Linked DNA regions of Homo sapiens: regions 2, 3 and 4 are each linked to region 1. Evidence: promoter capture Hi-C in 16 types of primary human blood cells and fetal thymus (Javierre and others, 2016). All regions are on one chromosome and are shown on one strand. The core of a region is centred on a gene start or on the middle of the fragment in contact, and the rest is flanking DNA. Distances in the headings are between cores, read along the strand shown. Region 1 holds the start of XRN2 (5'-3' exoribonuclease 2). Region 2 has its middle 9.3 kb from the start of BETALINC1. Region 3 holds the start of NKX2-2 (NK2 homeobox 2). Region 4 overlaps LOC112268271 (translation initiation factor IF-2).

Region 1 (3,397 bases), core at 1-2,500:
GTTAAAGGTGGAGAAATGGGATGAGAAGGGGTAGAGCAAGAACTGTTGCTTTTTGTTTAACCCACGTGCAAGTAAAGTTCAATAAAGTTCGATTAAAATTTTACAAAGGAAACAAGTATTCAATTTAGCAGTTGCTTTTTGAAAAAAACAAGAAATAGTGGGAATGTCACTAAGACAAGGCTTTTGGTTCCTCCTTGGATAGAAGCCAAGAAAGTTAAAAAAAAAAAAAAAAGCAGAAATAAGTTCACAGTGACAGGCAAGCACTGCCTTCAAAAACTAAGGAGTGAGGTACGCGTGATGTGCCTCTGAACGTTTCCAATCCAGAAATTCTAATTAAGAGCACAAAATCGAATCCGCATGGAATGACGAAAACAATAAAAACAAAACTCAATAATGGCCAAAAATCTACTTACGTATTAACTAACAACAAAAATTGTACTGCTCAAGTACATCCAGTAATCTTGAAATTTTCAACAAGCACCCACCCCGTTCAGTAGTCAGGGCACACAGAGAAGGGTAACTTCTCAGAATTCTATAGCGCTCATCCTGGACCTGACATACTGCTTTCAGCGTCCAATCTAACCAGAACAACAAATGGTCCTGAACACTAGGAGAAAACCTTTCCGGCACAATTGGTAAACAACGAAAAGGTCGCCGCCAGGGATTCCTTTACAAGGTTGTCAAAAAGCTGGCCTCCGAATCCGTGCATCCATAACCCGCTAGCTCAGCTGACCTGGCATGCATTGCTCAACAACAGCCTCTGAACCTCTTCCGAGACCCAAAATGCGCGGTCTGGAGAGGAAACAAAGCAGTGGGCGGGGCCTTCCGGTGCCGGGAAAAAGCGAGTAGGGGAGGAGCGACCCTCCTGCGAGTTCGGAACCCTATAGGCCCTTGCCCCGCCGAGGGTCCTGAATTCCTCGCCCCCGGGGTGCTGAATCCCACAGCCCGCGTCCCATCGCGTGTGGGGCTGCGACTGCTCGCGAGGCTGGCAGCAGGGCGCGAGCTCCGGCAAGGCTCCCCGGGGGCAGGCGGCGGAGCCCATGGGCCGCGGCCTAGACGTGCCGGGGGCCCGGGCTCGAGTGTGGCGGCCGCCTGGCGCCTCCTCACCTTCTCTTCCACGCAGTTGACTATGATGGACGGGTACTTGCGGCTGAGCCAGCGGAAGAACGCCGGGACTCCCATAGCGGCACACGGCTGGAGGCGGCGGCCGACCGGCTGACGAGCGTAACCAAAGAGACGGGAGCAGCGGCAGAGGGCACCAGCACTTCCTCCCACGTGCGCGCTGGAGAACGGAAGTGACGTCACGGCGCCGCCGCCGGGGAAGCTGGGAAGGAGGCTTCGCTGGATGAGGGAGCGGCGGAAAAGGGCCTTGCCGGGCTGTTTGTGGGAGGCGGAGTCCGGCGGCGGACCGGGTGGCGAAGGCTGCAGCTCGCCCTCGGTGGTCCCAGCCCCGGAGCGCGAGGCCGAGCGCGTCTGAGTTGCGGGGGCTCACGGGCGACTGCTCTGCCGGGGCTCCGCCGGGATCTCCCAGCCCCAGCCCTCCGGCTCCCTGGGCACAGAATCGCTGCGCTCTGCATGCCCGGGAGGAGGTCTCCCTTGCCCGTTTGGTCACCTCTTGTTTGGAAGAAAATGTCTTTTTTTGCCTCTATGCTCACCCGTCTCAATCTAGGGTAGAATCGAAGCATCCAAACTTACTCGTTACTTCCATTTCCTGGTTTCTCCTAGTTTTGTGCTGCAGTACGTACCTGGACTATCAAAAGGAGCATTTTAAAGCATTTTACAGTAATAATGGCTGCTTTGCACCAATAATTTGATTGTTATGCAAATAAATAATTATGATAGTTACCGAATGGAATCTAGCCGGTATTTAGCATCCAATACAATCTTCCAGCTACAATTACGGGTATAAAATAGTTGCTAATATGATTTTCCAGCATTTACTGAGCCTTTACAGTGTACCAAGACATTGACTAAGGGATTGTCCTATGTAATCTTCACTTGAACCTTGTGAGGGTACTGTTAGCACCCTCGTGTAAATGATAAGAAAGCCAAGTTACAGAGGAGTTAAGTCACTTATGCACATAGCTTCTGTTTCAGTTCAAGCAAAGGTCATTTTTAATCCATCCTTGTTCTAACACGATACTTTTATCTTTTGTTTTCTGGTGGTCCCAAACGAATTTTTTCCATATGAAAGGAGAGGTCTGGAAGAGGAGGTATATTTGTCCGTTTGCTCAAGCCTGGAAGTCTCCCTGAATCCCCTCTTGGTTTGACACACATCACACACGATGCTAAATGCTCACCTCATGAGGCCTCTGTGAAAGTATTTCGCCGAGTTACCTCACAGGCAGTATTTATTGCCCCCTCCTCTGTGGTCTGATGACTACTTTGTTTAAACTACTAGTGTGGAAATTAGAGAAATAGTCATCCCGTGTTTTACTTAAGGATAGCCAAAACTATTCCAAAGTATTATGTCTATGGTGAAATTCCTCCTTTTACCTGGAAGCAGCCCCTCTGGTTTCCCTGGGAGGTGCTGTTATAGGAACATGTACACCATAGGCAGTTCAGGGATAGACAGCTGGCCAAGTTGAGCCATTTAGAATCCTTAACCAGCATTTTGGCGGGTTGGGAGGGTTTATTGTTTTGTTTTTGTTTTTTCAGACGGAGTCTCAGTCATCCAGGCTGGAGTGCAGTGGCAAGATCCAGGCTCACTGCAACCTCCACCTCCCGGGTTCAAGCGATTCTCCTGCCTCAGCCTCCCGAGTAGCTGGGATTAGAGGCGCCTGCCATGACACCCCGCTGATTTTTGTGTTTTTAGTTGAGACAGGGTTTCACCATGTTGGCCAGGCTGGTCTCGAACTCCTAACCTCAGGTGATCTGCCCACCTCGGCCTTCCAGAGTGCTGGGATTACAGGTGTGAGCCACTGCACCCAGCCTTACCAGCATTTTTGAGCTTTGAACCATAAGAAATTTAAGACTGCATCTTTCCAGTGCGTGAACGCTAAAAGATAAGAATTGGGACTTGTTGCCAGTAGGCAATGAGAGAAGCAGGGTTAATTCCCTGGTTCCAGTTAAATCCCTCTCTTCCTGCAGTTTGATTAAGTCTGTCCTTTGATTCTGTGAGCCAAATTTTTTTTTTTTTTTTTTTTTAAGACAGAGTCTCACTCTGTTGCCAGGCTGGAGTGCAGTGGCACCATCTCGGTTCACTGCAACCTCCACCTCCCAGGTTCAAGCGATTCTCCTGCCTCAGCCTCCCAAGTAGCCGGGACTACCAATGTGCGCCACCACGCCCGGCTAATTTTTGTATTTTTAGTAGAGATGGGGTTTTACCATGTTGGCCAGGATGGTCTCAATCTCTTGACCTTGTGATCCGCCCGCCTTGGCCTCCCAAAGTGCTGGG
Region 2 (3,397 bases), core at 547-3,046, 240 kb before region 1:
ACAAACACTTTAAGCCAAAGTCTCAGTGTCATAAATCAGGGTGTCCAGTTAGTTATCAAAAGCTTCCCTCAGTCAAGAGTTAGACTTCTCCCCACCTTTCTCATATTCGTCTTCATATCCCCTTCAGGCACAAGTGTGGGTAGCCTCTGCTCTCCACCTGTCTATGCCCACCTCCTCCTCCATTTCCTGGTCATTGTTTTGGGCCAAGCTTCCTCCCCAGAACCCACCTGGGTGAATATGACTGGCATGTGGGGAAGAGGCCAGGCACTCAGCAATCCTTACTCAGCTAGGAGTTGCTCCCCTCTGTCTGGCAGGTATGCACTGGACATTTTCTCTTGGACACTGCCTTGAGTCCTGTGGAGATTCCCGCAGCCACTCTCTCCTGCACATCCCTCGGCTAAGGCAAGCATAACTCTATGCTAGGCAGACACTTGAATTGTCCCCGCAGGACCCTGGGATCCAGAGGCAAAGTTCGGTGGATTTTGCATACAGCTAATGAAGCTTAGGCCTGAAGGGCCCCCCGCATATCGAGCATTACAATTTATTAAGTGACTTTGAGCAACTCTTGAGATTCCAGTATAATTTTTCTTCATTGCTTTATTAATAGATTGAACTACATGAGTGGGTTTTGCACAACTCTCCATAACAATGTGTTTTTAAATTAAACCACTGATAGTTTATCTACATCACTGATTATTTCAAAGAACCAGTGCTTGGGTTTTTTCTTTAGCATGATTGTTTTTCTGTTTACAAATACACTTATTTCTGATTTTTTATCTACTTTAATCCCACCCTTCTGCTTTATTTAGATGTTTTGTTGATCGTTTTCTTAACTTCTTGAATAGAATACCCTTTATTTTCATTATTTCTTGTTTAATAATGAAACTGTTTACTTTCTTTCTGAAATTTATGGAAGTTTTGTTGTAGCTTAAAATGTGGTCCCTTTTTTGTGACTCTGACATGGGTGTCTGAATAAAAGTGTAGAGATTTCAACATAGATGCATGATGTGGCTGGTCTGTCATATGTAAAATTGATCTGTCTTATTACTTATCAATATTTTTACTTTTTATTTTGAAGAAATTCAAAACTACAGGAAAATTATAAGAATAATGTCAATGAACCGCCATATATGCTTCACCAGCTACTCACACTTTGCCATTTGTATGTGTGTACAGGTGTGTATGTGTATACATGTATGTGCGCATGTATGTATGTGAATGTGTATGTATGGATATGTGTATTGTGTACATGTGTATATGCAGATGAGTATATGTGGATGTATATGGATGTGAATGTATGGGTGTGTATATGTACACATGTGGATGCCTGCATACATATATGTATGTGAATGCATGTATGTGGATGTGTGTGGATGGATGTGTGTATGTATGTATGTGAATATGTGGATGTGTACACGTGTGGATGTGGATATGTGCTGTGTGCACGTATGTGTATATGTATGTGAATGTGTGTATGCATATATGTAGATGTATGTGAATGTGTATATGTGTATATGTGGATGTGTGTATATGTAGAGGTGTATATGTGGAGGTGTGTGTGTGTGTGGATGTGAATATGTGTATGTGGATGTGCACGTGTGTGGATGTCTATGTGTGGATATGTGGATTGTGTGTATATATATGTATGTGAATGTGTGTATGTGTATATGTAGATGTGTGTGGATGTGTATATGTCTGTGTGTGTGTGTGAACCATTTGAGAGTAAGTTGCAGATATAATGACCCTTCACCCCCAGATTCTCTACCATGTGTCTCCTAAGAACAAGAACCATCTCTGTAAACCAAAGAGCAAATATTTAATTCAGGAAATTGAATACTGATACAATGCCATTATATAATATCAAATATATTTAATATTATCTTTATTCACATTTCACCAGTTTTCCCAATATTCTCCTCCAAAGCAATATTTTTTCAATCCATATTCCAATCCAGGATACTTATTTTTTTGTTCCCCTTAACCTGTATGATTGAGAGAGATTTGGCAGACTTGTGTTGTGCACATTTCTCTTCGTGTTTTTTGCTTGCTGTCTGTACTTTGATGCTACATCCATGTATATGCACTGGGGCACTGTGTTTGGTAAGGAGATGTCATCCATTCAAGGATGCGTCCTTCCACTATAAGGACTTTGCTGGAGATGAGGACAGTTCTTCAGCTCACCCCTCCTAGATTTTCATGCTGAGTAGACGGGCTTGGAGAGCTTGCGCTGAAGCAGCTGAGAACCACCACATTTTCCCTAGAGGACGCCATTTAAGATCAAGAGGATCCCTGCATCTAAAACTCAGTTTCTGGGGCAAAAAGGACTTCTGAAGATAAACTCTTATTGAGATATTTCCTGCTCAGTAAGGAAAAAAAAAGGCTGAGTGCCGTGGCTCATGCCTGTAATTCTAGACTTTGGGAGGTTGAGGTGGGAGGATCACTTGAGGCCAGGAGTTTGAGAACAGCCTGAGCAACATAGCAAGACCCCATCTCTTAAGAAAAAAAAAAAAGAATAAAATGGGTAATTAAAAAAGGATAAAAAAGAAAATTAAGCCAGTCGCGGTGGCTCACGCCTGTAATCCCGGCACTTTGGGAAGCTGAGGCGGGCAGATCACGAGGTCAGGAGATCGAGACCATCCCGGCTAACACGGTGAAACCCCGTCTCTACTAAAAATACAAAAAATTAGCCGGGCGTGGTGACGGGTGCCTGTAGTCCCAGCTACTCCGGAGGCTGAGGCAGAAGAATGGCGTGAACCTGGGAGGCGGAGCTTGCAGTGAGCCGAGATTGCGCCACTGCACTCCAGCCTGGGCGACAGAGCAAGACTCTGTTTCAAAAAAAAAAGAAAAGAAAATTAAAATAGGATAAACCAAACAGAAACAAATGAATCTAATATTACTTCAGATGAGTAACATATCCATACTGGAGAAAAGAAAAAAATGTTTAATTAATTAAAAAAACCTATTCCAAGTAATTTTGAATGCAGTACTCTATTTCTCCTCAGTTTAAAACCAAAAAGAACTAAATAGATATTGAACTTCAATTAGAATGTTTGTTTATCTCAACGGTATGTGTTTGCAACACTGAAGCTTTTTCTATATTATGTGGGATTGAGCAAATGAATAAATAATCAGAGCCAGGTTTCCCACCATTAAAAAAGGGAATTAGAAATAGTGAATTTGGCCAGGCATGGTGGTGTGTACCTGTGGTCCCAGCTACTCAGGAGGCTGGGGTGGGAGGTCACTTAAGCTCAGGAGGTCCAGGTTGCTGTGAGCTATGATTGCACCAGTGTACTCCAGCCTGGGTGACAGAGTAAGACCCTTCCTCAAACAAAATAAGAGAGAGAGAGAGAGAGAGAGAGAAAGAAAGAAAGAAAGAAAGAAAGAAAGAAAGAGAGAA
Region 3 (3,397 bases), core at 628-3,127, 210 kb before region 1:
TAACCTGGGCCATTGTCACCCACGTCACATACTGGGGGCGAGGCAGCTAGGGCTGCAGAAAGCCGCCGAGCGGCTCGGGGAGAGGTGCCCTCACCCAGCGCTGGCAACCCGGGGGCAGCTGGGGCGCGGCGGCGTCCGCTGCAGCTGCGCGCGAGGAGGACCCGGTGCCCGCGCGCTCAGCTTGGCCCGCGCGGAGGAGCCCAGGTTGTGGGAAGACTAGACCTGGACCCCGCAGGGGTGGCCTTCTGTGCCCCTCCCCGCCCCCAGACAAAGCTCCTTCCTGACACTCCTCTGGGGCGAACGAGCATCAGGTAGCCAATCTACACCCCTGCACCCCCCCCCCAAAAAAGTTTTAACTAGAAGAAGGGGTGGCAAATGCGGCGTGGTCTTTTCCAACCCCAGCGCCGAGGAGGAAGTGCAAGTCCCGGGAAAGTTCAGTTCCCAGAGCCGAGAGTGGCTGGAAACTTCACACTAACCTGACTTAACCTGGAAACGTGGAGCGCGTACTCCGAACGCACCCAAGGCGTCCAAAAAGAGACCACACTAAAGAACTCGCGTGGGAGAAGAAAACTGGGGAGAAAACGAGGCATCGTCGGGCCACCCAGCGACCCCCCTCCCCCGCAGCTTTCTGGGTCTTCACCCAGGCTGGAGACACAACCCCCACCCCCACCCCCGCAATCCCGCCCCGCCGCCTTCCCGCTGCTCCACCTCTAGCCAGAGGCTGGAGAGGGAGGGGGCCGGAGAGGGAGGGATAATAGAGGGCAGGAAAGAGCAGGGCCGTCTGCCCTTTCCTCCACCCGGGGAAAGAGGCCCGCAGAGCCCAGAGGCAGCAGGGCCAGGGTCCGACCCCAGACGAAGTTGGAGCTCCTCACTCTTACCCCGCCCTCCCCGGGACCGCCCGCAAAGCAGAAAGTGAACTGCGCGTCCTCCTTGGCCGCAGAGAGGTGGAGGCGGGGGGTTGGGGGTGGGAGGTGGGGGGAGGCGGAGTGAAGGAAATAAATGAGTCTTTAGCAAATAAAGGGCGGCTGGAAGGGGGCGGGTCGCTTGGTGGTGGCTCTGGCCGGCCCGGAGCGGAGCTCTCTCCTGGGTTTTGGGCTCTCTCGCGGTTAACTGGAATCAATTACTTGCCTTGTCATTTCTAGCACTCATCCTTAAGCCTCAACCAAAATATTGACCTAGGAGGCTTACAGAAGTTGGGCTCTTGCCATTTGAACCGGATCTTGTTTAGGCAACCACCAACGATGGAAAGGAGAGATTTCCGCAGCTCGGCCTTCGCCCCCTCCCCCTTTTCCAAAGGCGCCACAAATCGCCAATTTTCCGGCTTGCCGGGGGTGGGCGCGCGGGGGCGGGGAGGTAGGAACCGGTGAATGTTAAAGAGGATTTTTTCCCTCCTCCTGGTTTCTGTTTTGTTTTCTCCCCTCCTCCTCCCCACCCCCACCTTTTTTAAGATGCAATTTGTTAAAACGGCCCTTTCAAGTGTGTGGACTCGCGAGCGACGCGGTGGCCCTTTGTATGTAAATACTGGGTTTAAAAAAAAAAAGGCTCGCCCCGTCTTTGCAATTAATTGACACGTTACACCTCTCATCTTGCTCTAGAGGGCCGTTGGCTGGGAGCGCGGAGCTCCCCAAAACCCACAATTTCACATCTGCAAATACTGTCTTCATCCACTTGACTCCCAAGACCCGCCCACACGTGGCCAACCTTTGCGTTTTTAATGTCTCTTCCCCCTTTTTTCCACCCTTCTCCCGCTCCCTCTCTCGCTCCCCCTCCCTCCCTCTTTCTTTCCCTCCCTCCCTCTCTTTCTCCCCCTCTCCCCGCCTCCCCAGGTTCGTGAGTGGAGCCCAGCCTTATATGGACTGATCGCTCGGGCAATGGCCCATTTTTTCCTCGCCACCAGCCGCCACCGCGCGCCGAGCGGCCGCCGGAGCCCGAGCTGACGCCGCCTTGGCACCCCTCCTGGAGTTAGAAACTAAGGCCGGGGCCCGCGGCGCTCGGCGCGCAGGCCGCCCGGCTTCCTGCGTCCATTTCCGCGTGCTTTCAAAGAAGACAGAGAGAGGCACTGGGTTGGGCTTCATTTTTTTCCTCCCCATCCCCAGTTTCTTTCTCTTTTTAAAAATAATAATTATCCCAATAATTAAAGCCAATTCCCCCCTCCCCTCCCCCAGTCCCTCCCCCCAACTCCCCCCTCCCCCGCCCGCCGGGGCAGGGGAGCGCCACGAATTGACCAAGTGAAGCTACAACTTTGCGACATAAATTTTGGGGTCTCGAACCATGTCGCTGACCAACACAAAGACGGGGTTTTCGGTCAAGGACATCTTAGACCTGCCGGACACCAACGATGAGGAGGGCTCTGTGGCCGAAGGTCCGGAGGAAGAGAACGAGGGGCCCGAGCCAGCCAAGAGGGCCGGGCCGCTGGGGCAGGGCGCCCTGGACGCGGTGCAGAGCCTGCCCCTGAAGAACCCCTTCTACGACAGCAGCGACAACCCGTACACGCGCTGGCTGGCCAGCACCGAGGGCCTTCAGTACTCCCGTAAGTAGCAAAACTTGGCTGCCGAGGCCGTGGTCCCCTCCATTCCTGCAGCCGCAGCCCGGGTTGGACGCTGGGAGTGAAAGGGGAAGGGGCCATGTAAGCCCGGACCCCCTCACTCGGATCCGTAGAAAGATTTTTAACACCTGTATAGGATGTCCTCTGCCCTCCTCTTCAAGCCTCCTTAGTTCCGGGAAAGAACTTGGTCTCCAAAATTTTTTTCAATGCGAGAAGTTAAGGAGAAAGAGGGAGAAGGGCTATACCTCCCAGGGGCTGGTATATGATGTCAACCCGGACCGATGGCTCCAGCCGCAGCCCCCGGACTCCGGCCGCTGGGAGGGACTGGCCTGGCGCCCTGGAGGTAGCCAGCGAGCCTCGTCCGGGTACGGGTGGAGGGTGGGGAGGCTTCGGGTGGCCCGGGTATAAATAGCTCACCCTGCCCCCTGCGCGATCATAGAGGACGCTTTGTGCAGTGCAGGGGGTGTCTAGAAGGCCCGAAAGCAGAAACGAAAGCCCCCAAAAACCTGCCTTAAATGGCCGAGCCGATCAATGCTGGGATTGTGGGGTATTTCTTTTAAAAATCTGCCCACGTCTCGCCGGAGAGGAAACCGCTTAAGGGCGCCGGAGCCCTTAACCCGCGATGATCTTCAGTGCCACTTCCCCCCCCAAATTCTCACCCACACTATGTGAGCCCCTTGAAAGGCGAGCCCCTAGCCCCCACTCCTACGGATTTCCCTCTTTACCCTGGGAGGTCCCGACGTCTTCGTCAGGCGTAGAGGAAGGCAGGGGTCATGGCAAAGGCAGCGGGGCTGGGCTGCCAGGCGCGGAGGTCCAGGGTCGCACGGAGGATCCAGGGTGCTCCGAGTCTGG
Region 4 (3,397 bases), core at 415-2,914, 190 kb before region 1:
TGCTAATTAACATCACTGCAATTAACCACCATTCACAGCTCTTCAGCTGCTCTGTGGAACCTCAGCCCACTCTGAAATGAACAGCCGCAGTGGCAGGGGTTACAGAATGGGCTGGGAGTGGCAATGTAGATTTATCTCTTCACACACTCTATGCCCTCTATCAAAAATGCCTCAGGCTGTGTAAAATTCCACAAATAATAAAGAGATTTTAAAAATGTGAGTCTTGATTGATTCCTTACTATGTATCTGGCTGGAATTGGGGTGGGGGGAAGCAAAGAGAGTGGCTGAGCAGTAAGAAATGGCCATTACTGCTCAGCTGGAGGGAAGAATGGTGCCACCTTCCAGAGGTTCTTAACACTTTGTGTCCCACAGGCCCCTTTGCCAGGCTGAAGACTCCTATAGAACCCTTCTCAGAAGAATGAGTTTAGGTTATAAAGTAAATTAGATTAAGAGGTAATTCTACCCCTTGGGGATGAGGGACTGCAGATTAAGGACTCTTATCCTGCAAAGGGTGACAGAGTCCCTTTGCTCCGGCACCTCTGCCCCTCCCCCACCAGCTGCCCTTTGTGCCAACCCCGGGTGAGTCAAGGAAAGGAAAGGACCAGCCAGGACTTCCCCCTCCCCTGGGAGGGTGCCATGGAAGGCAGAGGACTGCTCTCTGTGTCAGAGCCCCTGCGGTCACCATGGGCTACAACACGGTGAGACAACAGAAGGAACAGTATTGAAGGGCAGCTCTGCCCTGAGGTAGAATTTTGGTCTTAATGGACATGTAGGCTGGGTGAGGGGCTGAGATGTGCTGCAGCATTTGCTCTTATGTTAACCCTTCCCCACTCCCATCTCCTTTCTGTGAACATAATGGCATTTCATAAAATTAGGCATGCTATCTATCAGCAAAAGGTGAAAATTTAACAGGGCAAATTGAAATAACCACTCTTGATGCAAACACCCTTTTAAACTTTATCACCCTGATCCTATGCAATTAGACAAAGGAATTATGAACACCGCTGTCCAGCGCCTTCCCCAGACTCCCTGGGTGAAATGAAAGAGGTTCTAGTGGAGACTTGGTGGGCCAGGGCGGAGAGGCTGCCTGTGCAGGGGCTGCTGAAACAATGACCGAAGCTGGGTTAATTAATCAAATGAGGAGGCGGATGAAAATCCGTGTTGCAGCAGTAACCCAGAGGGTTCACATGCAGAGGCCACAACATAAACAAGGCAATCCACACTTGTCTGAATCCTTACTGTTAATGAATATAAAGTTGGAGGATCATGTTCTGATTTGAGTTCAACTATGTGGCTGAAAAGTACGAGAAGACAATACTGAATGCTTTAATAAAAATCCCCAAAAAAAAAAACTGGTAATATTATATTCAACAGGAAGTTATCCACTCTTATATGATTTTTTCTTTTTGTTTCCCCAACATTTATAATATATACATTTATGCCACAATATAGCCTTCACGAATTCTGATAAGGCTGGTCTTAAAAGCAAATGTATTTCTTTCAACATTCTAATACCCCATCAATTTAAAATGTTCTTCAGATTTTACAAGACATGAAAGTTATTCAAATAGAATTTGGATGAATATTTTAATGACCGTTTAGTAATAGAATGAAGCTGTTCATGGTTGTGGCATGTACTAAAAACATACTTTTACATTTAATATCGACATTTTAGAGCTTTCTGCTGAAAATTTCAATAAAGTCTGTGTCTAAAACGTATTATGGGCCATTGCCTCTTCATAAAATTGACACAATATGCTATACCATTTTGTACACAATGAAACTCTTAATAAGCATTAAAACTATGTGTCCTTTCTGAGTTAAATAAACAATTTAAATGCAGTGTGAATAACCACCAGAATTAAAAGCAGTCTCTGCGGAGTAGGTCGAGGCGATTTAAACTGCCCATTTTGTGCCTCCTACATTGTTTGAATGTATATTTCTACATGCATAATTCCAGCAATAATAACAAGAATAGCTAAAAATATGTATCTTTTCAAACACAATTAATCACAAAAATAAAAGGCAGTAATTTGAGACATAAAATTCTGAAACTATTCCAGATGACTTTTTAATATGAACAAAAATTCCTGCCTTTTATACCAGACTTCAGAAAATAAAGGACATTACTAACTAAAACCTACCCATCTTTTAAAAATTGGATTACTTGGCCAGGCACAGTGTCTCATGCCTGTAATCCCAGCATTTTGGGAGGCCGAGGCAGGCGGATCTCCTGAGGTCAGGAGTTCCAGACCAGCCTGACCAACATAGTGAAGCCCTGTCTCTACTAAAAATACAAAAATTAGCCAGATGTGGCGGCTCATGTCTGTAATCCCAGCTACTCGGGAGGCTGAGGCAGGAGAATTGCTTGAACCCGGGAGATGGAGGTTGCAATGTGCCGAGATCATGCCACTGCATTCCAGCCTGGGTGACAGAGCAAGACTCCCTCTCAAAAAAAAAAAAAAAAAAAAAAAAAAAAAAAAAAAAAAAAAAAAAAAAAGGGTTATTTATTCTTAATAATTCCAGACTCACTAAGGACCGCCCAATAATTGATTATATTCTTGAAAAATTGTAGTTTGCACTATTTCGGTGAAATTTAAGGAGACTGGCCCTTTTTTCTTCTTTTACTGCGTATCATTGTTTTCCCCCCAACACGAGGAAGTGGTCCCCAGCTTACTCAAAGCAAAACAGTGCCCCTTCTCCCTCTCCACTGGCTGCCCTCTTGGTCTTTCCTGATACATTAGCAGTACAGCCTTATCTTCAGGCTCACAAGCTGACAAAATATTTCAAGGATGTCTGCATTCAGAGTGCTGATTCACTTCTTCCCCTGCCCATTCTCCCAACAAGTCCAGGCAAAGCACTGGGCTGCAAAGCACTGAGTACAGCACCTGTCTGTTGTGGGTGTTTAGTACAAAGTCATCTCCCTCATTATCTTCCTATTACTACCATTATGATTATTTGAATGTGAAGTAATGGTTTAAAGTCCCAGCCAGCTGGGCGCAGTGGCTCACGTCTGTAAATCGCAGCACTCTGGGAGGCCGAGGCGGGTGGATCACCTAAGGTCAGAAGTTCGAGACCAGCCTGGCCAACATGGTGAAACCCCGTCTCTACTAAAAATACAAAAATTAGCTGGGCATGGTGGCACGCACCTGTAATCCCAGCTACTCCATGAGAGTCACTTGAACCTGGCAGACAGAGGTTGCAGTGAGCTGAGATCGCACCACTACACACCAGCCTAGGCAACAGAGGGAGACTCCGTCTCAAAAAATAATAATGATAAAATAAAATAAAGTCCCAGTTCTGTGATCAACTAACCCGAGTTTAGCTCTGAGGAATACTGGACTATATTAAATGTGATTATTTGCATAAAGCCTTTAGCATGGGCTCTGGTTAAGTG

What was found. The method cuts DNA at HindIII sites, captures the fragments that hold promoters and counts their contacts. A CHiCAGO score of 5 or more calls a contact.
Region 2: a fragment that was not itself captured here is called in contact with the fragment with the promoter of XRN2 in region 1 in 2 of 17 cell types (naive CD4 T cells and activated CD4 T cells); the score reaches 6.9 in naive CD4 T cells.
Region 3: a contact is called between the fragment with the promoter of NKX2-2 here and the fragment with the promoter of XRN2 in region 1, in 5 of 17 cell types (naive CD4 T cells, megakaryocytes, activated CD4 T cells and 2 more). The highest score is 7.0, in naive CD4 T cells.
Region 4: a contact is called between a fragment that was not itself captured here and the fragment with the promoter of XRN2 in region 1, in 1 of 17 cell types (naive CD8 T cells). The highest score is 5.8, in naive CD8 T cells.

What each region holds. Positions count from the first base shown.
Region 1 is chr20:21,301,184-21,304,580 of GRCh38, reverse strand. It overlaps XRN2 (5'-3' exoribonuclease 2), which reads right to left and starts at 1,250. Exons shown (of 30, transcript NM_012255.5): 1 at 1,108-1,250. The coding sequence starts at 1,182. RefSeq lists an enhancer at 653-702 and a silencer at 1,423-1,552. The HindIII fragment of the contact is 6,284 bases long and covers 1-3,397 here.
Region 2 is chr20:21,537,702-21,541,098 of GRCh38, reverse strand. No RefSeq gene overlaps it. Among named protein-coding and RNA genes, the nearest start is that of BETALINC1, 9.3 kb to the right of the region's middle. The HindIII fragment of the contact is 2,586 bases long and covers 504-3,089 here.
Region 3 is chr20:21,512,544-21,515,940 of GRCh38, reverse strand. It overlaps NKX2-2 (NK2 homeobox 2), which reads left to right and starts at 1,877. Exons shown (of 2, transcript NM_002509.4): 1 at 1,877-2,530. The coding sequence starts at 2,272. RefSeq lists an enhancer at 1-180. The HindIII fragment of the contact is 7,883 bases long and covers 1-3,397 here.
Region 4 is chr20:21,496,083-21,499,479 of GRCh38, reverse strand. It overlaps LOC112268271 (translation initiation factor IF-2), which reads left to right. Exons shown (of 6, transcript NR_171654.1): 6 at 1-215. Among named protein-coding and RNA genes, the nearest start is that of NKX2-2, 16 kb to the left of the region's middle. The HindIII fragment of the contact is 5,766 bases long and covers 1-3,397 here.